7 separate regions of the Homo sapiens genome follow, and regions 1, 2, 3, 5, 6 and 7 are each linked to region 4. Evidence: promoter capture Hi-C in 16 types of primary human blood cells and fetal thymus (Javierre and others, 2016). All regions are on one chromosome and are shown on one strand. The core of a region is centred on a gene start or on the middle of the fragment in contact, and the rest is flanking DNA. Distances in the headings are between cores, read along the strand shown.

The links. The method cuts DNA at HindIII sites, captures the fragments that hold promoters and counts their contacts. A CHiCAGO score of 5 or more calls a contact.
Region 1: a contact is called between a fragment that was not itself captured here and the fragment with the promoter of GATAD2B in region 4, in 6 of 17 cell types (total B cells, activated CD4 T cells, total CD8 T cells and 3 more). The highest score is 8.5, in total B cells.
Region 2: a fragment that was not itself captured here is called in contact with the fragment with the promoter of GATAD2B in region 4 in 1 of 17 cell types (total B cells); the score reaches 7.2 in total B cells.
Region 3: a contact is called between a fragment that was not itself captured here and the fragment with the promoter of GATAD2B in region 4, in 4 of 17 cell types (total B cells, total CD8 T cells, naive CD4 T cells and 1 more). The highest score is 7.0, in total B cells.
Region 5: a contact is called between a fragment that was not itself captured here and the fragment with the promoter of GATAD2B in region 4, in 3 of 17 cell types (naive B cells, total B cells and monocytes). The highest score is 6.4, in naive B cells.
Region 6: a contact is called between a fragment that was not itself captured here and the fragment with the promoter of GATAD2B in region 4, in 1 of 17 cell types (total B cells). The highest score is 5.8, in total B cells.
Region 7: the fragment with the promoter of SNAPIN here is called in contact with the fragment with the promoter of GATAD2B in region 4 in 1 of 17 cell types (M2 macrophages); the score reaches 5.2 in M2 macrophages.

Annotation. Positions count from the first base shown.
Region 1 is chr1:154,257,736-154,261,153 of GRCh38, reverse strand. It overlaps UBAP2L (ubiquitin associated protein 2 like), which reads right to left. Exons shown (of 27, transcript NM_014847.4): 21 at 2,124-2,177; 22 at 1,125-1,206; 23 at 45-262. SNORA58B (small nucleolar RNA, H/ACA box 58B) reads right to left here and starts at 1,427; the gene lies at 1,292-1,427. The HindIII fragment of the contact is 872 bases long and covers 1,507-2,378 here.
Region 2 is chr1:153,583,683-153,587,020 of GRCh38, reverse strand. No RefSeq gene overlaps it. Among named protein-coding and RNA genes, the nearest start is that of S100A2, 20 kb to the right of the region's middle. RefSeq lists an enhancer at 3,014-3,338. The HindIII fragment of the contact is 198 bases long and covers 1,608-1,805 here.
Region 3 is chr1:154,234,263-154,237,622 of GRCh38, reverse strand. It overlaps UBAP2L (ubiquitin associated protein 2 like), which reads right to left. Exons shown (of 27, transcript NM_014847.4): 5 at 2,864-3,032; 6 at 2,332-2,427; 7 at 1,012-1,057; 8 at 487-599. Among named protein-coding and RNA genes, the nearest start is that of UBAP2L, 15 kb to the right of the region's middle. The HindIII fragment of the contact is 7,636 bases long and covers 1-3,360 here.
Region 4 is chr1:153,921,186-153,924,590 of GRCh38, reverse strand. GATAD2B (GATA zinc finger domain containing 2B) reads left to right here and starts at 1,619. Exons shown (of 11, transcript NM_020699.4): 1 at 1,619-1,858. LOC101928059 (a long non-coding RNA gene) reads right to left here and starts at 1,218. Exons shown (of 4, transcript XR_922160.3): 1 at 629-1,218. RefSeq lists silencers at 544-838, 1,516-1,835 and an enhancer at 1,146-1,385. The HindIII fragment of the contact is 8,959 bases long and covers 1-3,265 here.
Region 5 is chr1:153,638,485-153,641,657 of GRCh38, reverse strand. The region is part of intron 3 of CHTOP (chromatin target of PRMT1); the gene reads right to left. Among named protein-coding and RNA genes, the nearest start is that of CHTOP, 6.0 kb to the right of the region's middle. The HindIII fragment of the contact is 1,256 bases long and covers 694-1,949 here.
Region 6 is chr1:154,206,307-154,209,409 of GRCh38, reverse strand. It overlaps LTAP1 (lipid transport auxiliary protein 1), which reads left to right. Exons shown (of 7, transcript NM_001098616.3): 7 at 1,762-2,690. The coding sequence ends at 1,957. CFAP141 (cilia and flagella associated protein 141) reads left to right here and starts at 3,077. Exons shown (of 4, transcript NM_001010979.3): 1 at 3,077-3,103. The coding sequence starts at 3,103. The HindIII fragment of the contact is 1,373 bases long and covers 865-2,237 here.
Region 7 is chr1:153,657,229-153,660,399 of GRCh38, reverse strand. SNAPIN (SNAP associated protein) reads right to left here and starts at 1,697. Exons shown (of 4, transcript NM_012437.6): 1 at 1,514-1,697; 2 at 1,216-1,262; 3 at 834-952. The coding sequence starts at 1,656. RefSeq lists an enhancer at 1,852-1,931. The HindIII fragment of the contact is 14,460 bases long and covers 1-3,171 here.

The DNA of each region.
Region 1 (3,418 bases), core at 693-3,192, 340 kb before region 4:
CTAGGATCCTTCACCACAAGGAGTGACCAAAGCCAGGTACTCACAGGGAACACAGCAGGCCCATACTGGAAGGTGCTGGGGAGGCCCGGGACCCCTGTATAGTATGGCAGGCTGGTGTAACTGTAGCCAGGAGGCAGCGCCGGGTTCAGGAATGTCTGCTGCGTGGTATGGTGAGTCTGCGTCTGGTTCTGTTGGGGTTGGGCCAAGGTTGTGGCCGGGGCTGGGGAGGAGGCATCCCCACGGCCGAACTTTGTGAGGTCACCTGTGACAGGAGAAGCTAAATGTACCTGCCTCTTTCACCCCAATACCAATACAGAATTACCTCTTCTGATTTCACATGATTCCAGGAGATCCTGTTCAAAGACTATTAAAGTTCAATTCCTTGAATTACATTTCTTAGTGGCTCCAATTATTGTTGCTCAGCATACACTTAGCACAGTTGCTGCAAGTCAAGGACTAATGTTGAATAACTGTGCAATGCTATGGCAGGAGGCTCTTGGAATAAGGCACCTGCACAATTTCTCTGCCCACTTGTGTTCTCTTTCATCTTCCCTCTTCTTCCCTCCCCTCTTCTCCTCCATGGGGAATACCCCATGCTGGACTTGAAGGACAACGATGGATCAGGGAAAACGGTAAGTCAATGAGGACAATGATAGGTCAGGTAAAAGAAGGAGTGGCAAGGCAGTGAGATTGCCACTGTGAGTAGTAGCATAAAGGGGCAGAGATGAGCAGAGAAGACCACCTCAACCACTGTATTTCCTGGAAAAAGCTAGCAAATGGCTTGAAACTAAGTCAAGATATCACTTTTTTTGGAGATGGGGTCTTGCTATGTTGCCCAGGCTGGTCTTGAACTCCTGGGCTCAAGCAATTCTCCCACCTTGGCCTCCCAAGTAGCTGAGACTACAAGTGTGTGCTACCATGCCTGGCTAAGATATCATCTAGAAATCACAGGGAGACAACACAAAGTGGGATGAATAGGAAAAGCCATGACATGCCCAACTTTAGCAGGATTTTGAATCTACCAATCCTGATTTATCACATCCCTTCTTGCTACCAATCAGGTGTCTGCCATCAATCCCAACACTATCTCCCTTTTTATTTATTTAGTCCCATCCCAATCCTACCAGAATAAGGGTTGCTGGCCAGGCTACCATCCCTCCCAGTCAGCGGAGTAGTGGGTGTGGGAAATGGGATGCTGTAGTAATCCTAGAAAAGAGGGGAAAAAAGAGCAGAGATTCAATGTCACTCATTCCCCAGCATGAGTACTATTTCCACGGAGGAAAAAACAGAAGAATGTGAGAGTTGTGCAATTTATCCAGTCACTAATTAAGCTGGCTAGAGTTAGCACAAACTCCACATTACTCTTGCATACACTGTCCCCCCTGCCTGGCCATGAGCACAGTCAGACAAGGTCTACGGGTATGCCCACTTGAGAATACATCAAAGTCCACGAGGACCAATATTTTCAACCCTCTAGGTGTCATCCCTATCAGTTTATACCAAGCTTATTCTACTGAGAAAACAGATCATTCGATAATTTAAAGTGTCTGGGACAAACAGAAAGCACCCTGAGTGCTCCAGAGTACTTTACTGGGCTATAGAATAGGTTAAAATGTATTTACTAAGATGCCACAACTCTGATTTAAAAAAAGAAAAAAAAAAGGCTGGGTGCGGCGGCTCATGCCTATAAGCTCAGCACTTAGGGAGGCAGAGGCGGGTGGATCATAAGGTCAGGAGTTCAAGACCAGCTTGGCCAAGATGGTGAAACCCCGCCTCTACTAAAAATACAAAAAAAATTAGCTGGGGGTGGTGGTGGGCACCTTTAATCCCAGCTACTCGGAAGGCTGAGGCAGACAATTGCTTTAACCCAGGCGGCGGAGGTTGCAATGAGCCAAGATCACACCACTGCACTCCAGCTTGAGCGACAGAGAAAGACTCTGTCTCAAAAAAAAAAGTTATCTTCTGTTGGAAACCCTCCCCCAAATCCCTATATTCTAATATGCCTTAAATCAGAGTGTATGGAGGGCTGGGATGGGAAAGAGCTATGTCTGTGACGGAGATAATTCTCCCAACACTAATTTTAAGACTACTTTCTTTTCCAAAGCTCTATCCCACATACTCACCAATGGAAATCTTGTCTGAAGCATCTGCAAGTCATCATAACCATATACTTGTGGCTGAAAGATACAGACATATAGCAATAACAGGAACTGGTCATGATGTTAGCAAAACAAGGAGCCAAGAGACAAGCTAATTCAACAGAACATTCATCCTCATTCTGGGTTAGAACAGGACACGGATTATTTCCTTCAATTTTATTTAAGGAAAAAGCAGTAAAGTACACAGAGATTAAATGATTCATGAAAGGTCTTGAAGCTTTCCTTGAGCTAAATACTACTGATTCTAGTAGGCTGGCTTCTTGATACCAATAGAGTAGACACAAAACATACACGAACAACCAGTTTTACTCTCTATTCTACAAGTCTCTGTCTCTTATACTCTTCAAAATCTGGCTTAAAAATAATCTCCTCTGGAAAGAATACTTCACTTTTCTCCAATGTCAGGGTTTTAAGGTAGTGACCACAAATTAAAAATGTGTAACTGTGTTATTTGGATGTGTCATCGGTATGAAATTTATCTAGACTTTGTCTATGAGGGCAGGAACAGGTATCTTCTAAAACGTTTCCATATATCCTTCATCTTAATAGGTACCAAATACTTGAAGGTCACAGAAGATACACTAGGGCAAAAAGCTACTAATGTCAGCCACTTATTCTCAAAGTCCCAGATTGAGTCAGGAAACTTTCCTCTAACCAGGCCAGACCAGCAAACACACTCAGAGTTAGGGATTTAATCAAATCAGAGAAAATAATTCTTGGGGCCAGGAGTAGTGGCTCAGGCCTATATATAACCCCAGTTATTTGAGAGGCTGAGGCAGGAGGACTGTCTGAACCTGGGATTTTGAGACCAGCCTAGGCAACATAGGAAGACCCTGTCTCTAAAAAAATTTTTAAAACTTAGCCAGGCATGGGGATGCACACCTGTAGTCCTAGCTACTTGGGGAGTCTGAGGTGAGAGGATTGCTTGAGCCCAGGAGTTCAAGGCTGCAGTGAGCTAGCTATGATCGTTCCACTGTACTCCAACCTGGGTAAAAGAGCAAGATCTGCCTCAAAAAATAAAATAATAGTCATAATTATCTAAGAAACCAAAAAGGATTCCAGATGAACATTCTGGCCTTTGGCTTCTGAGGCCCAGAAGCTGTGTTTCAAACAGGGCAGATATTCTCATCACACATATACATACACATTGTACGCACACACACACATGCATACATGTGTGCACCATAAACCAAAGCAGATACACAATAGATGGGTTGGCCTCAGTTTAGTATTTTTTCCAAAACTGCAAAGATTAAAAA
Region 2 (3,338 bases), core at 457-2,956, 340 kb after region 4:
TCAAACTCCTGACCTCAGGTGATCCGCCTGCCTTGGCCTCCCAAAGTGTTGGATTACAGGGATTACAGGCATGAGCCACCGCGCCTGGCCTGTTTTTTATTTTCTAGAGATGGAGTCTCATTATATTCCCCAGGCTGGTCTCAAACTGCTGGCCTCAAGCAATCCTCCTGCCTCAGTTTCTTAAAGTGCTGGGATTACAGGCGTGAGCCACCATGCCCAGCCTTAGGATGCTTTTTGGAGTCCCTCAGCTGAGATGCAAGTGGGGCACATGTAACTGAGACTCCATCTGCCCTGGGCAGCTTTTCTTTTTTCTTTTTTTCCTCTTTTTCTAATCCAGTATGACTGGTAGTTCCTGGGCAGCTTTTCTGAGCCTTGGGGTACCAGCCTGCCATGAATCTGAGGCTTCTGTTGTCCCCTGCTTTCAATCTGTAAGTAATAAACCTGCTTCATGTAACTTGAGTGTGTCTGTGTGTGTCTGTTTAACTTGACTCAGACAGGTTGAAACCAGTGCACAACGGACCTACTTCTCAATTCCTTTGTAGGCAATCTATTGCTTTTGGAAATGTTCAGAGTTTTAATTGAATTTGATCTTCTTCCACTTCAATATGAGTCTAAATGTGTTTTTTTCCTCAGTTACCCTATTTAGCATTCTATGAGCCCTTTCTATCTGAGATCTTTTTCTCTAATTCTCAGAAGTGTTTCAATGTTATTACTTCATTATTTCCTCCTCTCTGTTTTTTTTTTTTTTAATTCCCTGTCTGGGGAATCCTGTTATCCTGATATGAGCACTCTACTTCTATTCTCCATAGCACTTAGCTCCTTTAAAAATATTCTCTTTGTTCTCTACTTCTGCCTTCTGGGAGAGTTTCTCAGTCTGATCATTTAGCTCATCCATTTATTCTCCAGTTGTAGCCATCTTTTATTTTTCCCAATGATTATGCTCTTTATTTTATTTTATTATTATTTTATTGACACTCTGTCACCCAGGCTGGAGTGCAGTGGCACGATCTTGGTGCATTGCAACCTCTGCCTCCTGGGTTCAAGCAATTCTCCTGCCTCAGCCTCCTGAGTAGCTGGGATTACAGGCTCACACCACCACACCCGGCTAATTTTTGCATTTTTAGTAGAGACGGGGTTTCACCATGTTGGCTAGAATGGTCTTGATCTCTTGACCTTGTGATCTGCCCGCCTCTGCCTCCCAAAGTGCGGGGATTACAGGCGTGAGCCACTGCGCCTGGACAGTTATTTTTTTATGACTTCTTGTTTTTATTTCTATCACTAATCTCTCCTTTATCTTTTTGAGGATTTTATTACCTTAATTTAACTTTTTGGTCTACCAGTTTCAATAACTATGCTTCAAATGGTTCATGTTGGTCTTTTTGGGGGGTATTTTGTTACAATTTCTGTACATCTCAGGTTCTGGTGATTTTGGCTTGTGAGCCTGTGTTTCCTGGGCTGGAGTGGGGGTTGTTCTCAGCTACTGCATCTGGAGGTATTGGGGGAAATCCTCAGTGTGGACAGCCAAAGGCACTGCAGAACTAGTGTCACCATTTTGTTTGCGGTCATTCCGCTGGGCAACATCCTGGATGGGAATTTGCCTTTAAGCTTTATGTTGTGCACATGTACCCTGGAACTTAAAGTATAATAAAAATCTATCTATATATATACAAAATAAAAAAATAAAATATTCACTCATACATGTGGAAAAAAAATAAAAAAATAAAAAAATAAAAAGCAGCTCTGGGAAAAGGCAGTCTCCCTGGATTTAAACCTCCAGCTCTGTGGATTTGCAGTGGGAGGAAGCTTGTTGCCTCAGATCAGCCCCCGACTTACTTGCATCAGCTTTTTATCCTGATAGGCCTTGTGTTTTGCCCTGCTTGTTTCTTCTCTGGAGGCAATTGTATCATATCCTTGTTTTTTTCCAATCCTTAGACCTTGAAAAAATGTTTTCCTTAGTGTAATGGTCAGAACCTTCAAATTAATGTTGAATAAAGTGATAATAGCAAGAATCCTTTCCTTGTGTTTGACTTTAACAGGAACAATTTTAAAGCATTTACTGTTCATTCATTTACTGTTAAGAATAATTTAATGTTAAGAATAAGATTGCAGGCTGGGTGTGGTGGCTCATGCCTGTAATTCCAGCACTTTGGGAGGCCGAGGTAGGTGGATCCTTTGAGCTCAGGAGTTTGAGACCAGTGAGGGCAACGTGGTGAAACCCCACTAAAAAAAAAAAAATAAGATTGCAGTAGGTTTTTGCTTGTTGGTCAAGATGTTCCTTTCTATTCCTAGATTATTAAGCGTTATTATTATAAATGGGTATTGAATTTATTCTGGCATCATCATATGGTTTTAATTTTTAATCTCTTAATGTGGAGACTTACATTAATGTATTTTCTAATGTTAAAGTCATCCCTGCAATCATGACATAAACCCAACTTAGTCATAATTTTTCTTAAGTATAATACTTGATTCCATTTGCTAACAGTTTATTTAGGATTTTGCATCTATAATCATAAGTGAGATTGGGTCTCAATTTTCCTTTCTCATACGATACATTTCTGGTGTTGGTATGTAGGATGATCTGCTTGGTACATGGGTTTGGCTGTATGTAACGGATACCAAAAATAGTGGTGACGTGAATGAGAGGGAAGTTTTTTTTTTCTGTCCTGTATTATCTGGAGGTTGGTGGTCCAGGGCTGGTTTGGTGGTTCTGCTTAACCACCCCTAGTTCGTATGGTCCAAATAGCTCATGTACTTTCTAAGTGGCAGGGTGAAGAAACGGCATGTCTCTGACTTTTGAGCATGAATCAAAACTTGCATACCCCATTTCTACTTCTCTTGGCCAGAACTTAGTCATATGGCTACACTCAGCTGCAAGGAAGGCTGGGAAGTGTGGCCTTTATTTGAACTTAAAAGCAAAGATTCTTTTGCTGTGAAAGACAAGGGGAGAATAGGTAATAGGACAATTAGCAGTCTCTACCATAAAGGTTATTTTATATATGCCACATATGGGCAGTATTTCCTTTTTCTATTTTCTGGAAATTTAAGTTTGTATGATTTTTTTTTCTTTTTTTTTTTGGCTGACTTTTGTTTTTTTTTTTTTTAAATTTATTTATTTATTTATTTTTTAATTGATCATTCTTGGGTGTTTCTCGCAGAGGGGGATTTGGCAGGGCCATAGGACAATAGTGGAGGTAAGGTCAGCAGATAAACAAGTGAACAAAGGTCTCTGGTTTTCCTAGGCAGAGGACCCTGCGGCCTTCTGCAGTGTTTGTGTCCCTGGGTACTTAAGATTAGGGAGTGGTGTTGACTCTTAATGAGCATGCTGCCTTCAAGCA
Region 3 (3,360 bases), core at 64-2,563, 310 kb before region 4:
ATAAATGGATAGTGTGGACTTTGATTCTAGGCCTTGTTCATCTTTACAAGCAGTGGCTTGATTAATTCTGGCTATCTTTTCAAAAGGCAACACTACCCTAACATAAACACTAGAAAATACACTTGGACCTAATAGCAGTGACATAGCATAGTTGAAAGGGCATGGACTTTCAGGGTCAAACAATGCTGAGTTCAAATACTAGCAAATTTATAACCTCTCTTTCGGCCTTAGTTTTGTCATCTGGAAAGTGATGATAAATAATGATTATTTCATACAATATCAAGCAGCATTAAGCGAAATAACATGTGTAATGTGCCCATATGCACGTTACATAAACAGTACACACAGTAATACAACTGCCAGCCCTTTCTCACCCTATCTCCATAACCAAACACTATTCTTCCACGTTTTAATGTAAGTATAATCAGAAAAAACTATTTCCTTAGATTCCCAGAGACAAGAAATGAATGATAAATGGTCACTCACTCGTCCCATCATCTGGTTCAAAGTGGCCAGTGTTGTTCCACGTATTGCCGCTGCTATTGCCATAGTTATCATCAGTATTGGCTGGCTCTGCATAATCAGCTGGGTTAAAGGTTCTGGAAAAAATAAAACTTAAGAGTCTCTGACCTCTAAGCAGCTTTGGCAAATATTAACTCAAAGAATCAAAATCTTGACTGCATCCTTCCTAGTACAAATCTGTCATGGCCCCATTCTATAATCCTGTGTGTCATCTACTTTTTCTCACTTATCACTCTACCCAAAATTTCATGGTATAATCTCAACATATATCTAAGATATTCTGAGAAAAGAACAGGTATATTGATTCAAATAAAGATATATAAAATATAGGTAATGATCCAGGTGGTAAAGGTTTATCCCTAAGAAATGAGCCCTAAGTCCCCATATCTTTCTGACCAGTCTAGAAATCATTCTGATCATTTTGGTTAAGGCTGCCTACAGTAATTTTTAAGGGAAAAAAAATTAAGACACTAGATCAATGAAACTTACCCCATTCCTTGAGCAGAAAACCTTCCTCCTCGCCTACCAGAGCCACCTAAAGAAAGAATGAGAAAAAGAGAAGAGAGATGTATTTTAGAAGTTGATATAAAACTTCCTTGCCAGGCAGGCACAGTGGCTCCCGGTGGTAATCCCAGCACTTTGAAAGGCTGAGGGCGGGCGGATTGGTTGCATCCAGAAGTTCGAGACCAGCCTAGGCAATAGAGCAAAACCCTATCTCTATAAAAAGTACAAAAATTTGCTGAGTGTGGTGGCACACACCTATAGTCCCAGCTCCTTGAGGGGCTGAGGCAGGAGGATCACTTGAATCCAGGAGGCAGAGGCTACAGTGAGCTAAGACCGCACTACTGCACTCCAGCCTGGGTGACAGTGAAACCTTGCCTCAAAAATACAAAAAACTACCCTGCCAGCTGAGGCAGCTCTGGAATAAAAAGTGGTTGATACTATCAGATGTTCTTTCTCTCTGTCCCATGTTACACATCAGTAATAGAGTAGGACAATCATTACTGTTGAGAGATTTTTCTTTTGCTCTCAGACTACCATGTCCTCAAGCAAATACAATACTAGCAATAAAGACTAGAGGAAATGACATCTACCTTCTTTCTCACTCTCCCCTTCTGCAATCTCTAGTATATGCATGACACCTCAGGAATTAACTAACTAGACTTCATGTTAATTTGTTTTTAAACAAAGTAGACCCTGGAGCCAAGTGCTGTCTCTCACACCTATAACCTCAGCACTTGGAGAGGCCAAGCAGGAAGATCTCTTGAAGCCAGGAGTTTGAGACCACCCTGGGCAACATATTGAGACTCCATCTCTACAAAAGCATTTAAAAATTAGCGAGGCGGGCGCATCACTTTAGGTCAGGAGTTCGAGGCCAGCCTGGCCAATGTAGTGAAAGCCCATCTCTACTAAAAATACAAAAATTAGCTGGGCGTAGTGACGCACGCTTGTAATCCCAGCTACTTGGGAGACTGAGGCAGAAGAATCGCTTGAACCCGGGAGGCAGAGGTTGCAGTGAGCCAAGATCGCGCCACTGCACTCCAGCCTGGGTGACAGTGCGAGACTCCATCTCAAAAAAAATTAGCCAGGCATACTGGCGGCCACCTGTAGTCTTAGCTACTAGGGAGGCTGAGGCAGGAGGATCACTTGAGCCCAGGAGTCTGAGGCTGCAGTGAGCTATGACTGTGCCACTGCACTCCGGCCTGGGTGAGAGTGAGACTACCTCCAATAAAAAAAAAAAATAAAGCAGACCATTAATGAATAAAGAGTAACCTGCCCCCAATATCCATCCCCCAACAAACTGATCACCTCTGCCTCGGCCACGGCCCCTTCTGCCTCTTTCTGTTCCTCTTCCAGAAGGCCCTCCACTCTTGGTGCCATCCAATCCATTTTCCTGACCTCGAACTGAAATAAAAATAAAAATTAAAACAACAACAACAACAAAAAAACCAAACCACAGATGGCCAGAGCACAGTCAACAGGATATATACAAATATATAAATGGTATGTAATATGGTATTGGGAATTAAAAAAACAACGAAGAGAAAATGAGCTGGAAGGATGGGAACATGTTTCTCAGGGAATGGTAATGTGCCTTAATGGAGAGCTGCAAGTCAAATTTAACTTTATAAATGACTACAGGGTAATCTCATGCCAGACTGGTGGCAGTTGGTAGAAAAGGCCACATGCAAGAGATGTCAAGGTCTCAGAACAGACGACGGCAAGAAAAGCAAAAGGATAATATAATGGTTCCTAGGTCCTGACTAGCAGGGCCCTGGCACATCCCTAGAGTCTAGACATTACTGACCCACAGCTGGTTTTGATAAAGCCCCATGCATACACTCTCGTCCACGGCTGGCACCTCTCCCCCGTCTTGGTGGCCCACCACGTCGCCGACTATAGTCTCTGTCCCGGTCTCGATTTTCTTTGCCTTCCTCATTGGATTCCGTCTGGCCACCATCCTTCTGGCCTGAGACTCCCTTCTTCTTCCCGACCATCTCCCAGGAATGCTATAGAAGGGTAGAGCATTCATATCTAATCAATATGGAGTGCTATCAGGACACTAGAGATGAAAGCTGGGATGACTGATTGACTTAACCATTCTCCACTCAGCATCCATGTCTAAAACACTTCCATTAGTTTGCTTTTACTTCTGTTTAAATATTTTATACATATCACTACAAAAAGTAAAGTCCTTTATTTTTTATTTATTTATATTTATTTATTTATTTATTTTTGAGACAGAGTCTCGCTCTGTTGCCCAGGCTGGAGTGCAGTGGTGTGATCTTGGCTCACTGCAACCTCCACCTCCCAGGTTCAAGCGATTCTCGTGCCTCA
Region 4 (3,405 bases), core at 370-2,869:
AGAAAAAAAAAATGGGTGCGTCTGTGTTTGTGTAGGATCTACCTACGGCTTTAAGTTGCCATGTCCTCCATTATAATTTCATTTCCATTGCACAGCATGACTTTTAAATAATTTAAAAAACATGTTCAAATACCTGTGGAGGCTGGCGTGGTGGCTCACACACCTGTAATCCCAGCACTTTGGGAGGCTGAGGCAGGAGGATCACCTGAGGTCAGGAGTTCGAGACCAGCCTGGCCAACATGGCGAAACCCCGTCTCTACTAAAAACACAAAAATTAGCCGCGCGCCTGTAATCCCAGCTACTCGGGAGGCTGTTGAGGCAGGAGGATCGTTTGAACCTGGGAGGCGGAGGTTGCAGGAACTGAGATTGTACCACTGCACTCCAGCCTGGGAGACACAGTGAGAAAACAACAATAACAAAATGCCTGTGGAACCAGTTGTTTCTGGGTTTAAACCACTGCTTAGTCACTAACTAGCGGTCTGACCTTTGGCAAGTTACTTAACCTCTCTGAGCCTTAGTTTCCTCATCTACTTGGGTTCAAATTTCAGCTCTACCACTTAACGTGTAACTGGACAAATTTTTTGATCCTAATTTTCCTCATTTGTAAAGTAGGGATAACAGTACCTACCTCACAGTCATGAGGAATAAATACTTCATGTAAAGTTCTTAGCACAGAGCCTGACACAGTCTCTTTCCAAAAACGTTAACTACTATCATAACCTTAACACCCGGACTCTGTTACTTGGTCCCTATCCTCAAGGTGCTCCAGAAACGCTCGCTGAGTTTAGGCGGGCCTAACTGCTCCGTGGAAGCAGGGAGGCCAGCAAAAGGAGCTGGCCCTTGAGTTAATTAGGTGGAATCGGGCGGGGTGGGAGGCTGTTTCCTCGCTGAGAACCTAACCAGACCAGGAGTTCCCAAGAGAAGGAGCTGCGAGGGCTCTGCACACCGTAATTCCTCAGCAACTTGGCTAGCTGCTTTTTTTTTTTTCCTGCTGTCGTGGTTTAGTCACGACAGGACCAAGCGGAGGTACGATGAACACCAGGAAGCTCAAAGCCTTTGGCAGACGGAGACAGGCCACACCCCAAAAAGACGGCAAGGCTCAAGCGCCTAAAGCTAGTTCTATCGTGAAATTTCCTAGAGTCTGTCGCGACGAAACACCGCCCACCGCAGACCCCATCGCCGTTCGCCAGTCTCCATCTTTAGAATTGAAAGAATGAGAGATGGCCAAAGGGGAATCCCGGTTTGGAGAGACTGGGGTACGGCGGCTGCCTGGGGACCAAAACGTCTCTAAGGTAAAGTTGCAGCCTGAAGCGATTTTTTGACCCCCGACACTTAATGGGCTGTCGAAGACCCGGATGTGTCTGGGACTGGCAGAGGTACCCATTAACGCGCCCCCGCTAGACCATCCCCCCTCCTCCGTTTATGATTGGGTTTTAAGCACGCCAATCATCACTTCTCCGGCCACTCATTCTTCAAGGGTGGGGTGAAGTCCCGGCATCTAGTCTTCTACTGGCATGGCCGAGAAGATGAGGGCGGGGTGGCCGGCTTAGGTCGCCCAATGGGCGTCGTGGCGTGTGGGTAAGGCGGAGCCGAGGCGCTTGGCAGCTGCCCAATCAGCGTCCTTGTTTGTGTGGTGCCGCCGCCGCCGGTGCAGCCGTCGCCGCCGCCGCTGCCCCCGTCTGTACCGCAGTGTCTGCTCCGCCCGCCCGCCCCGGTCCGGCCCGCCCCCCTCCCCTACCCCCGTCCCTAGTCCCGTCAGCAGGGTCTGGATCCCCTGTGCCGTCGCCTCTTCCTTTTTCGACGCCTCCGCCGCCGCCTGAGGAGGCGAGCTAGCCGGGAGTTACACCGCCACCGCCAGGTGAGGAGCTTTGGCCTAGGCCAGCCTGGCCGCCCGCCCGCCCGGGGGCGGTGAGGAGCGAGGAAGGGAAGGAGGCTGGGAGGAGGCAGTGGTGGCGGAGGTGGGGGAAGGGAAAGGTGGAGGGGCGGGGGGAGGGGAAGCGCCCGCGAGCCGACGCCCGCCCGCGCGCCCCCGCCTTGCGTCCCCCTCCCCCCACCCCGGCACGGCGCGCCCCCGCCTCGCGCTCCTTCTTCACCTCATCCTCTCCCCCCTTGGCGCGCGCGACCCGGTCTTTCACTTCGGCCTCGCGCGCCCCCAGCTCGTGTCCCTTCATTTCGTCTCCTTGTACTCTTTCTCCCCTCCCTCACGCCCCGTTTCCCCCGCCATCCCCGCTTTCACTCCCTGCCTCATGCCCGCCATGCTCCCCTCCTTTCCTCTCTAGCGCGCCCCCCCCTTTTTTTTTTTAACTCTCTCCACCCCCAGTGGTGCCCTCAGGGTGCGGGGGCCGCTCCCTGCTCAGTCTTGTGTTTGCGGGCGGATGGGACGAATGGGGAATCTAAGGGTAAAGGAAGCACCAGATAATTATCTTTATTTAGGGAAAGGGATCAGGAGCGCATAACCTTACCCCTTTATTTCGTCGTCCACCGTTCGCTCGCCCTCCCGTAGGGGAAGAGAATTGTCTCAGGCTATGTGGGCACTTAGCTTCTACAGCGACTGGGCTTGTGGGACACACTGGATCTGTCTTCCAGTTCAGTTCCTGAGGGTCGGTGGAACTTACCCTTCCCTAACCACACCGGGACTTAGAGTACTTTTGGCCTCCCTGCTCTCAATTACATTGAGGAGCGAGCCACTCATGCGAGTGCAGAGGTTCAGGTGCCATTCGCGCGCCCGGTACAGCTTTCCCGTTTCATAAAGGTATGGTAGCCTCTTTGGATTCTTCCCCAGCATCAACTTCCAAACACAAGATGTTAGCTCATAGGGCTGGCAGTGAGGTGGAGATGGAGGCTTGGTGGTGGGTGGCATGTGGATGCTAACTGAGCTAGCTAGCAACCTTTTCTCTGTTGTCCCCTGGAAAATCAGGTAGCCTCCTGAGAACCAGTTTTCTCATTTCTGATAAATGCTTATTTGGGGGGCGTGTGTGTGTGCGTGTGTGTGTGTGTAAGAGAGAGAGAGAGATGGGGGGATACTTAATACATTTCAGCAGAGGCGAAGGATACTTAATATATTTCAGCAAAGGGCAAGAGCAGTGTTTTCAGGCCAGACTGCAAAAGAGGGATTTGGATTTGTAGCTGATGGAATTAAAACAGGTTTAACAGATCTGTGTTGGAGAAGAGCTGATGCTTTTGTAGTTTTTAGGACATTTTTTCTAAAAATTTATATTTTGAGTAGAAAAGCATGCATGTGGTTGTACAAAGTGAAAAGTAAGCTTCCTTCCCATCTCTGTCCTCCAGCCATCTAGTCTCCTTCCCCTCCTAGCACAGATGACTTTGATGTTTTCTGGCAGCAGCATGGTGCCTATATGTTGTTGGTGATTATCCTGTTTGGGAGTTTAGTGCTAACTTTATTGC
Region 5 (3,173 bases), core at 72-2,571, 280 kb after region 4:
GATGTAAATAAACACAAGAAAGTCAAATCTCCTTTCCTTACATTTCTTAAAAATCCCTAATTCCATGCCTGCACTTGCAAACAGCTCCTTTAAAACAATGATGACCTTAAATTAAAAATAAACATGTAACTCAAATGTATCTCCACAGTCAGCCAGCCAAACGTATGTTAGAATTATTCAGGTGATCACAAAACTCAGGGCCATATATAAGAACAAGGACACACTACAGAGATAGGGTATTTTTAAGAATCTGTTCTCAAAAGAAAACCATTAAGACTACATCTCAGAGAATTAAATTCCTTCAAAGGAAAAAGGGACAGCAATAGCCCTGAACACAACCAAGCTCCTAGTAAGCCTGGCTGTCCATAAAGCCATCAGTCAATCTGAAAGAAAATAAATTGTATAGCCCCTTCAGGCTTCACCCACAAGTGACTACCAACGTGTATGTGTGTGTTTTCTAATCAACCTCTCAAAAAGATGCTGTGAAGCATTATTAACTTTCTAGCACAAGATCATAAATTGCTTCTCATCAGTGGGGAAGGCTCCAAACATTATGCATCTAGCATAAGTAGGTGTAACCAACCGTAACGGCCTGTCCTGTTACTCCCGATTAACACACAATTATCAGGTTAGAACTGCATTCCACAAGTCTCTTGCGTTCAGTTATCCTGCATATATTAATTCTCCCAAGCTTTGTGCTTTAAAAGAACTGTACAGTGCTGGGAAGTTCTTTACCCATTCCAATCCTTAAGTGCCACCAATACCGGCCTTTAATATTAACAGGGAAGTTAAGGATGTCAACTATACCACTTAGTTTCCCTTCTAGAGGTGTGCTGTGTAAGGCAGCCTCTATAGCTACATGTGGCTATTTCAATTATTTTTATTTTGAGATACAGTCTCGCTCTGTTGCCCAGGCTGAAGTGCAGTGACACGATCTTGGCTCACTGCAACCTTCGTCTCCCAGGTTCAAACAATTCTCCTGCCTCAGCCTCCCGAGTAGCTGGGATTACAGGAGCTGTCATCACGCCTGGCTTATTTTTGGTGGAGACGGGGTCTTGTCATGTTGGCCAGGCTGGTCTTGAACTCCTGACCTCAGGTGATCCACCTGCCCAGGCCTCCCAAAGTGCTGGGATTACAAGTGTGAGCCACCATACCCAGCCTAAATTAAAAGCAAATTTTACTTATTTTCTTGAGACAGAGTCTCACTGTCACCCAAGCTGGAATGCAGTGGTGCCAACTCCACTCACCGCAACCTCCACTTCCTGGGTTCAAGAGATTCTCCTTAGCCTCTTGAGTAGCTGGGATTACAGGTATGCGCCACCATGCCCGGCTTTTTTTTTTTTTTAGTAGAGATGGGGTTTTGCCACATTGGCCAGGCTAGTCTCAAACTCCTGACCTCAAGTGATCCGCCTGCCTTGGCCTCCCAGAGTGCTGGGATTACAGGCCTGGCCTAAAATTAAATTAAAAAAAATTAAGCTCCTTAATTGCACTAGTCACATTTAAAGTTTTCAATAGCCACATGTGACTAGTGGCTACTGTACCGGAGAGCAAATACAGAACATTTCCATCATTGTAGAAAGTTCTGGCTGGGCACGGTAGCTCATGCCTGTAATCTGAACACTTTGGGATACTGAGGCAGGCAGATCACTTGAGGTCAGGAGTTCAAGACCAGTCTGGCCAACATGACAAAACTCCGTCTCTACTAAAAATACAAAAATTAGCCGGGTGTGGTGGCGGGCGCCTGTAGCTGAGACAGGAGAATCGCTTGAACCCGGGAGGCGGAGGCTGCAGTGAGTTGAGATTGCACCACTGCACTACAGCCTGGGTGACAGAGCAAGACTCCGTCTCAAAACAAACCAAACCAAACCAAACCAAAAACATAAAAAAATTCTATTTAATAGTACTACTCTGGATAGGGACTACTTCCTGCAGAGCCTATACTTAAAGCTTCTTGTTGAAAGGTCCTTTGGAATGATCTGTCAGAGATTCATCTTCAGCAACTTCCATTTACTCTTGGAAAATGGTGCCTTTTGCTGCTTTCCTGAGTCAGGGAGGAATCCAGTCACTCCAAGGCTTAAGGTAGCCGAAGCAGACACCCTTGTTTATTTTTGGTCAGTGAGCCCAATGGTTCAGGGTGGGGGTGTAAGGGTGTTATATTTAACTGCTGAATTTATGCATAGCCATGCAATGCTACCAAAGCCCTTACAGTTGCATGGCACTGCCCTCCAGACGCCCAGCCACAGCTTGGACATATCCTTCCACAGCCACTGTCCGGACTTGCATATAAATTCTATGAATAATAAAGAGCAGGTTTTATTTCAGGTCTGAATAGGATTATCTCTCACTGTAAATTTGAAAAAGAGAACCCCTAACTCAAATTACTCAGTATTCTTGCTCCACTTTACTGGTAAAACTTTAGGTGCTGTGGAAATGAGGGTCACTCTACTCTGTATATTTTAGCATTGAAAACCTTTGACTGCTGGGCGCGGTGGCTCAAGCCTGTAATCCCAGCACTTTGGGAGGCCGAGGCGGGTGGATCACGAGGTCAGGAGATCGAGACCATCCTGGCTAGTATGGTGAAACCCTGTCTCTATTAAATATACAAAAAAATTAGCTGGGTGTGGTGGCGGGCACCTTTAGTCCCAGCTGTTCGGGAGGCTGAGGCAGGAGAATGGTATGGACCCGGGAGGCGGAGCTTGCAGTGAGCCGAGATCGTGCCACTGCACTCCAGCCTGGGCGACAGAGCAAGACTCCGTCTAAAAAAAAAAAAAAAAAGAAAACCTTTGACTAAGGCCATGCAAACTCCCTGCACTATGGGAAAAAGAATAAAATTATTTCCCTGTTGGGTAAATCATTTAACAGAGAGTAAAGGATGCTGTGAGATTATCTAAAGCTGAAATAAAGTTTCTTTGTGGAATAAGCCATTAATCTATGTTAAGGGTTAAGGATCAGAAAACAAAAGATTAATACTCATTGGTAACAGAAACAGGCCACATAGATGGCAAACTCCCTAAAAGAGAAAGACAGTAAAAAGTTACTTATTGGTACCTGCCAAAATTGGAATTCTCTGAACTTCTCTTTCTTCCAGAGAAGTTTCAGCTTTTTGCCCTGAGCCACTTTGCAATCATCCATCACGTCCTGACAGCCTCAGTGGACTCCCTCACAGAGATCAC
Region 6 (3,103 bases), core at 302-2,801, 280 kb before region 4:
GATGAAAATGAACATGTAGAAAGGCTGGAAAAGGGCATTTGGTCTAGAAGTCAGCAGAAGCCTGTTCAAAATTCACTTTCTTTGAAAGATAAATACTAGATGATTCCAGTTATATGAGATACCTAGGTAGTCAAACTCAGAGACAGAAAGTAGAATGATGGTTGCAGGGGCTGGAGAGTGGGGGAAATAGGGAGTTGTTCACTGGGTATAGTTTCAGTTTTGCAAGATGAAAATGTGGAGGTTGGTTGCACAACACTGTGAATATACTTAACACTACTGAACCATACATTTAAAAATTCTTAAGATGGTAAATTTTATGTTACATGTATTTTACCACAATCTTTTTAAAAATTATTTCTGAAGGCCAGGCATGGTGGCTCACGGCTGTAATCCCAGCACTTTGGGAGGCTGAGGCGGGTGGATCACCTGAGGTCAGGAGTTCAAGACCAGCCTGGCCAACATGGTGAAACCCTGTCTCTACTAAAAATAGAAAAATTGGCTGGGCATTGTGGTATGCACCTGCAATCCCCAGCTACTCGGGAGGCCGAGACAGGTCGCTTCAACCTAGGAGGCAGAGGTTGCAGTGAGCCAAGATTGTGCCACTGCACTCCAGCCTGAGCAACAGAGAAAAAGACTCCATCTCAAAAACAAAAAATTATGTTTGATTTGTAGTTTCTAGGAATGTTCATTGGGTTTAGTGAAGAGTATAGGCTTTGAAATCTGACAAACTTAGGTTTGAATCCCAGGTCTGTCACTTAACTAGTTTTGTGACCTCATACAAGCTAATTATTGGACCCTTAGTTTCCTAATCTGCAAAACAAGGTGATACCTATATTGGGGATACCTGTCTCTGAAAAAAAAGCTTGAGCCAGAGGCAAGAACTCTGGGAAATTGGTTTCTCTGCTGCTAGTTGTTTTTGGTATGAGTAGGTGTGTGTCAGGGTACCCAAACAGGGCCTTTATTCTGTCACCCAGGCTGGAGTGCTGCTACTTTTTTAGGGTGTGTGTGAGAGAGAGAGACAGGGTCTCAGTCTGTCGCCCAGACTGGAGTGCAGTGGCACATTCATGGCTCACTGCAGCCTCGAATTCTGGGTTCAAGCGATCCTCCTGCCTCAGCCTCCTGAGGAACCAGGACTACAGGTGCTTGCCACCATACCTGGCTAATTTTTTGCAGAGATAGGGTCTCACTTTGTTTCCCAGACTGGTCTCAAACTCCCCTGGGCTCAAGCGATCTCTGGCCTCTGCCTCCTGAAGTGCTGGGATTACAGGTATAAGTGACCATGCCCAGCCTCTCTGCTACTTTTTTTTTTTTTGAGATGGAGTCTTGCTCTGTCACCCAGGCTGAAGTGCAGTGGCGCAATCTTGGCTTGCAACCTCTGCCTCCTGGGTTCAAGTGATTCTCTTGCCTCAGCCTCCCGAGTAGCTGGGATTACAGGCACCCGCCACCACTCCCAGCTAATTTTTGTATTTTTAGTAGAGACAGGGTTTCACCATGTTGGCCAGGCTGGTCTCGAACTCCTGACCTCAAACAATCCACCTGCCTGGGCCTCCCAAAGTGCTGGGATTACAGGCGTGAGCCACCGCGCTCAGCCTCTTGTATTTCTAAGCTACTAGATGGGGTTTTAGTAACTAGTTTACAAAATAGGACAGATAGGACACAAATAACTATTTGTGACTATTGCTGCATTTATGGCCTGGGATAAGCCCTGATTTCTTTGATTAGTCCTCATTCTGTCAATGACCTCCCCTCTCTGTTCTTCAGGGTTAAAGCACGAATTGGGAGCTCTCAGCGACATCACCAGTCAGCAGCCAAAGACCTAACTCAGTCCCCTGAGGTCTCCCCAACAACCATCCAGGTGACATACCTCCCCTCCAGTCAGAAGAGTAAACGTGCCAAGCACTTCCTTGAATTGAAGAGCTTTAAGGATAACTATAACACATTGGAGAGTACTCTGTGACGGAGCTGAAGGACTCTTGCCGTAGATTAAGCCAGTCAGTTGCAATGTGCAAGACAGGCTGCTTGCCGGGCCGCCCTCGGAACATCTGGCCCAGCAGGCCCAGACTGTATCCATCCAAGTTCCCGTTGTATCCAGAGTTCTTAGAGCTTGTGTCTAAAGGGTAATTCCCCAACCCTTCCTTATGAGCATTTTTAGAACATTGGCTAAGACTATTTTCCCCCAGTAGCGCTTTTTTCTGGATTTGCATTCAGGTGTTATTCTTAATGTTTCTGTCAAAGCTTCTTAAAAATCTTCACTTGGTTTCAGCCATAGTTCACCTTCCCTGTTCCAGGTTTATTTAATTCCAAAGGTGAGAGTTGGAGTGAGATGTCTTCCATATCTATACCTTTGTGCACAGTTGAATGGGAACTGTTTGGGTTTAGGGCATCTTAGAGTTGATTGATGGAAAAAGCAGACAGGAACTGGTGGGAGGTCAAGTGGGGAAGTTGGTGAATGTGGAATAACTTACCTTTGTGCTCCACTTAAACCAGATGTGTTGCAGCTTTCCTGACATGCAAGGATCTACTTTAATTCCACACTCTCATTAATAAATTGAATAAAAGGGAATGTTTTGGCACCTGATATAATCTGCCAGGCTATGTGACAGTAGGAAGGAATGGTTTCCCCTAACAAGCCCAATGCACTGGTCTGACTTTATAAATTATTTAATAAAATGAACTATTATCAAATAAAACGTATGAATCAGTCCTTTATAGTTGTCTTTTAATAAAACAGGCATTTGATAATGTTATCTGCACATTTCTAACAGGGTATAGGGCATGAGGATTTGCCTCCAGAGAATTGGTGGGACTGTGTGCATACCCTGGACCTACGACCATACACATACTCCTTGGGACCCTAGCACAAGAAATCCTAAAATCAGGACTGTGGCCCTTGCTCATAGATGCCTGTGTCACCAACAGAAGGCTGCAGAACAAGGATTCTCTCAAGGTTTCTGGGGCAACAGGCCAGGTGGCCAATCAACTCCTAGGCCCAGGGTTATTGTTGGAGGTGTAAATGTTACTATGACTACTGAAACCTTGGTTACTGAACTAAACAGAGGAGCCTGTCAGTCTCCTCAGACTGTATCAAGCAAATCTATAGACA
Region 7 (3,171 bases), core at 448-2,947, 260 kb after region 4:
TGGGATTACAGGCAAGAGCCACCGCGCCCAGCCGATCCTGTCTTTTTATTTAAAAAAAAAAAAAAAAAGGCCAGGCAGGCCGGGTGCAGTGGCTCACGCCTGTAATCCCAGCGTTTTGGGAGGCCCAGGCAGGTGGATCACTCGCATGCAGGAGTTTGGGACCAGCCTGGGTAACATGGTGAAACCCTGTCTCTAGAAAAAATACAAAAATTAGCTGGACATGGTGGTGCATGCCTGTAGTCCCAGCTACTTGGGAGGCTGAGGTGGATGGATCGCTTGAGCCTGGGAGGTAGAGGCTGCAGTGAGCCTTTATCATGCCACTGCACTCCATCCTGGGTGATAGACCTTGTATCATAAAAATAAATAGCCAGGTGTGGTGGTTCACTCCTGTAGTCTCAGCACTTCGGGTGGCCAAGGTGGGAAGCTCACTTGAGCCCAGGAGTTCCAGACCAGCCTGGGCAACATGGAGAAACCCTACTTCTACAAAAAAATACAAAAATTAGCTGGGCGTTGTGCACGCTTGTAGTCCTAGTTACTCGGGAGGCGGAGGCAGAATTGCTTGAGCCCAGGGGGCGGAGGTTGCAGCGAGCTGAGATTGAGCCACCGCACTCCAGCCTGGGTGACAGAGGGAGACTGTCACACACACACACACAAGAATGTAAATGGCAGCAACTGAATAGTGAGAATGAGACGAATTTTCCTAGGTATTTTTCAAGTACTGGGAGAAGTGAATTTCCCTTTCCCCAAAGAATTTTAAAATTACAGTGGCTTTCACTGTGTTGAGGACTTACAAAAAAGGGCAAAGAATCACTGTTGGTAAGATATTCTTTTACCTGAGCATTCTGTAGAATGTTGTTAACCAAGACAACGCGTCGCCGGGCATTAAGTAGCTTCTTAACATAGGGGTCAAGATCCAGGGCCACCTTCTGATCCTCATTTATGCGGCACAGTTCTGGGGATGGAAGTAAGGTGCAGCTAAGATCTAACGGCTTATCTCTTGTTCTGAGGGAAAGCAGGCTGGTAATGGGATGGAAAACACTTGCACCCAAACGGGCCACAGCCATTAGAGATTTAAGACATCCCTGAAAGGAGGAGTCCTTTGGCAGCCCTGATGCCCTGGAAGCAAGTGACAGAAACTCAGCCCAGGGGTTGGCAAAAACCTAAGGTCCTGAAAGTGGGCTGAAGAATTCCGGGTACACAGGGATGCTCACTCACCTGTGGCTAGGTTGTCAATTTGTTCCCGGAGCTCTACCTGGCTCTCTCTGCAAAGAGGTACAAGGCCTACAAGGTCAGGCAGTTACCGGAGCTCAGGAAACGAACTCCCCTACGTATTTACCAAGTACTGAGAGAAGCCGGCCTCCGCTGAACCCTCCACCTGCGGCCTTCCCGCCTGTCCTCCCCGCCTCGAATCAGTTTCCTAAATTTATGCCCACTCCCAGCCAGAACACTTTCTTGGCCCCGCCCCTACAAAGCCAGAGAGACAGGCCCCGCCCCCAACTTCCCTCCCGGGCACCTGACGGCGTGTACGTGAGAGTCGAGCTGCTGCACAGCGGGTCGCAGGAACTCCAGCAGCCCTTCGGCGAAAAGGTCGCGGCCTGTGGGCCCCGCCACCGGGGTCCCTGCCCCCGATACAGCGGCGGAACCAGCCCCCGCCATCACGAATTGTCCTGAAGCCCGAAACCTGCCGCGAGGGCCGCCGGGAACCGGAGCCGCGCCGCACTGCCCCGCCCCGTGAGGGGGCGCCCGGGAAATGCTGTCTCCACCAAGACACCGGGGTTTCTGGGAAATGGAGTCTAGCGCGAACCGGGCGGGGAGGAGGGCCAGGCCGTAGGAGTAGAGGCCTTGTGGCTGGTCTTGAAAATCTCCAAAGTTCAGGTTGTAGAAAGGAACCAGTTTTTGGAGTGGATACTTTTCGTTTTCTTTAAAGGTGAAAATAAACGCGAATACCTGCAGTTGTCCATAGCCTTCCCATGTTAACTTTATGAGATAGCCGGGCATGGTGGCGGGCACCCAGCTACTTGGGAGACTGAGGCAGGAGAACCGCTTGAACCCGGGAGGCGGAGATTGCAGTGAGCCGAGATCGCGCCACTGCACTCCAGTCTGGGCAACAGAGAGACTCCGCCTCAAAAAAAAAAAAAAAAAAAAAAAAAGCAACCCAAACCAAACAAAAACAAACCAAAAACAAAAACACTTTATGAGAAAGCCACATTATATTCATAGTATCGTTTTCTATTTCTAAAGAGTTTATTGTGGTTGGTTGTTTTTAAGACAAGGTCTCTCTCTGTCGCCTAGGCTGGAGTGCAGTGCCACCGTCTTGGCTCACTGTAGCCTTCACCTCCTGGGGTCAAGAGGTCCTCCTGCTTCAGTCTCCCAAGTAGCAGGGACCACAGGTGTTAGCCACCATGCCTGACTAATTTTTCATTTTCTGTAGAGAAGAGGTCTCACTATGTTTGTTGCCCAGACTGGTCTCGAACTCCTGGGCTCAGGTGATCCTCCCAACTCAGCCTCCTAAAGTGCTGGGATTACAGACGTGAGCCACCACGCCTGGTCTATTTCTAAAGAGTATATTTTTAATGGCATTAAATATGTAAAAAACTGCATGTATCCGAATTTCATTCCTTTTTAAGGCTGAATAATATAAACATGCAGGCAGGGCATGGTGGCTCACTCCTGTAATCCCAGCACTTTGGGAGGCTGAGGCGGGAGGATCACCTGAGCCCAGGAGTTCGAGATCAGTCTGGGCAACAAACCTAGTGAGACTCTGTCTCTACAGGAAATAAAAAATTAGCCAGGCGGCCAGGCGCAGTGGCTCACGCCTGTAATCCCAGCACTTTGGGAGGCCGAGGCGGGTGGATCACGAGGTCAGGACATCGAGACCACGGTGAAACCCCATCTCTACTAAAAATACAAACAATTAGCCGGGCGCAGTGGCGGACTCCTGTAGTCCCAGCTACTCGGGAGGCTGAGGCAGGAGAATGGCGTGAACCCGGGAGGCAGAGCTTGCAGTGAGCCCTGATCGCGCCACTGCACTCCAGCCTGGGCGACAGAGCGAGACTCCATCTCAAAAAAAAAAAAAAAAAAAAAAATTAGCCAGGCATGGTGGCTCACAGCTGTGGTCCCCGCTACTTGGGAGGCTGAAGTAGGAGGACCTTGAGCCTAGGAAGTTGAGGC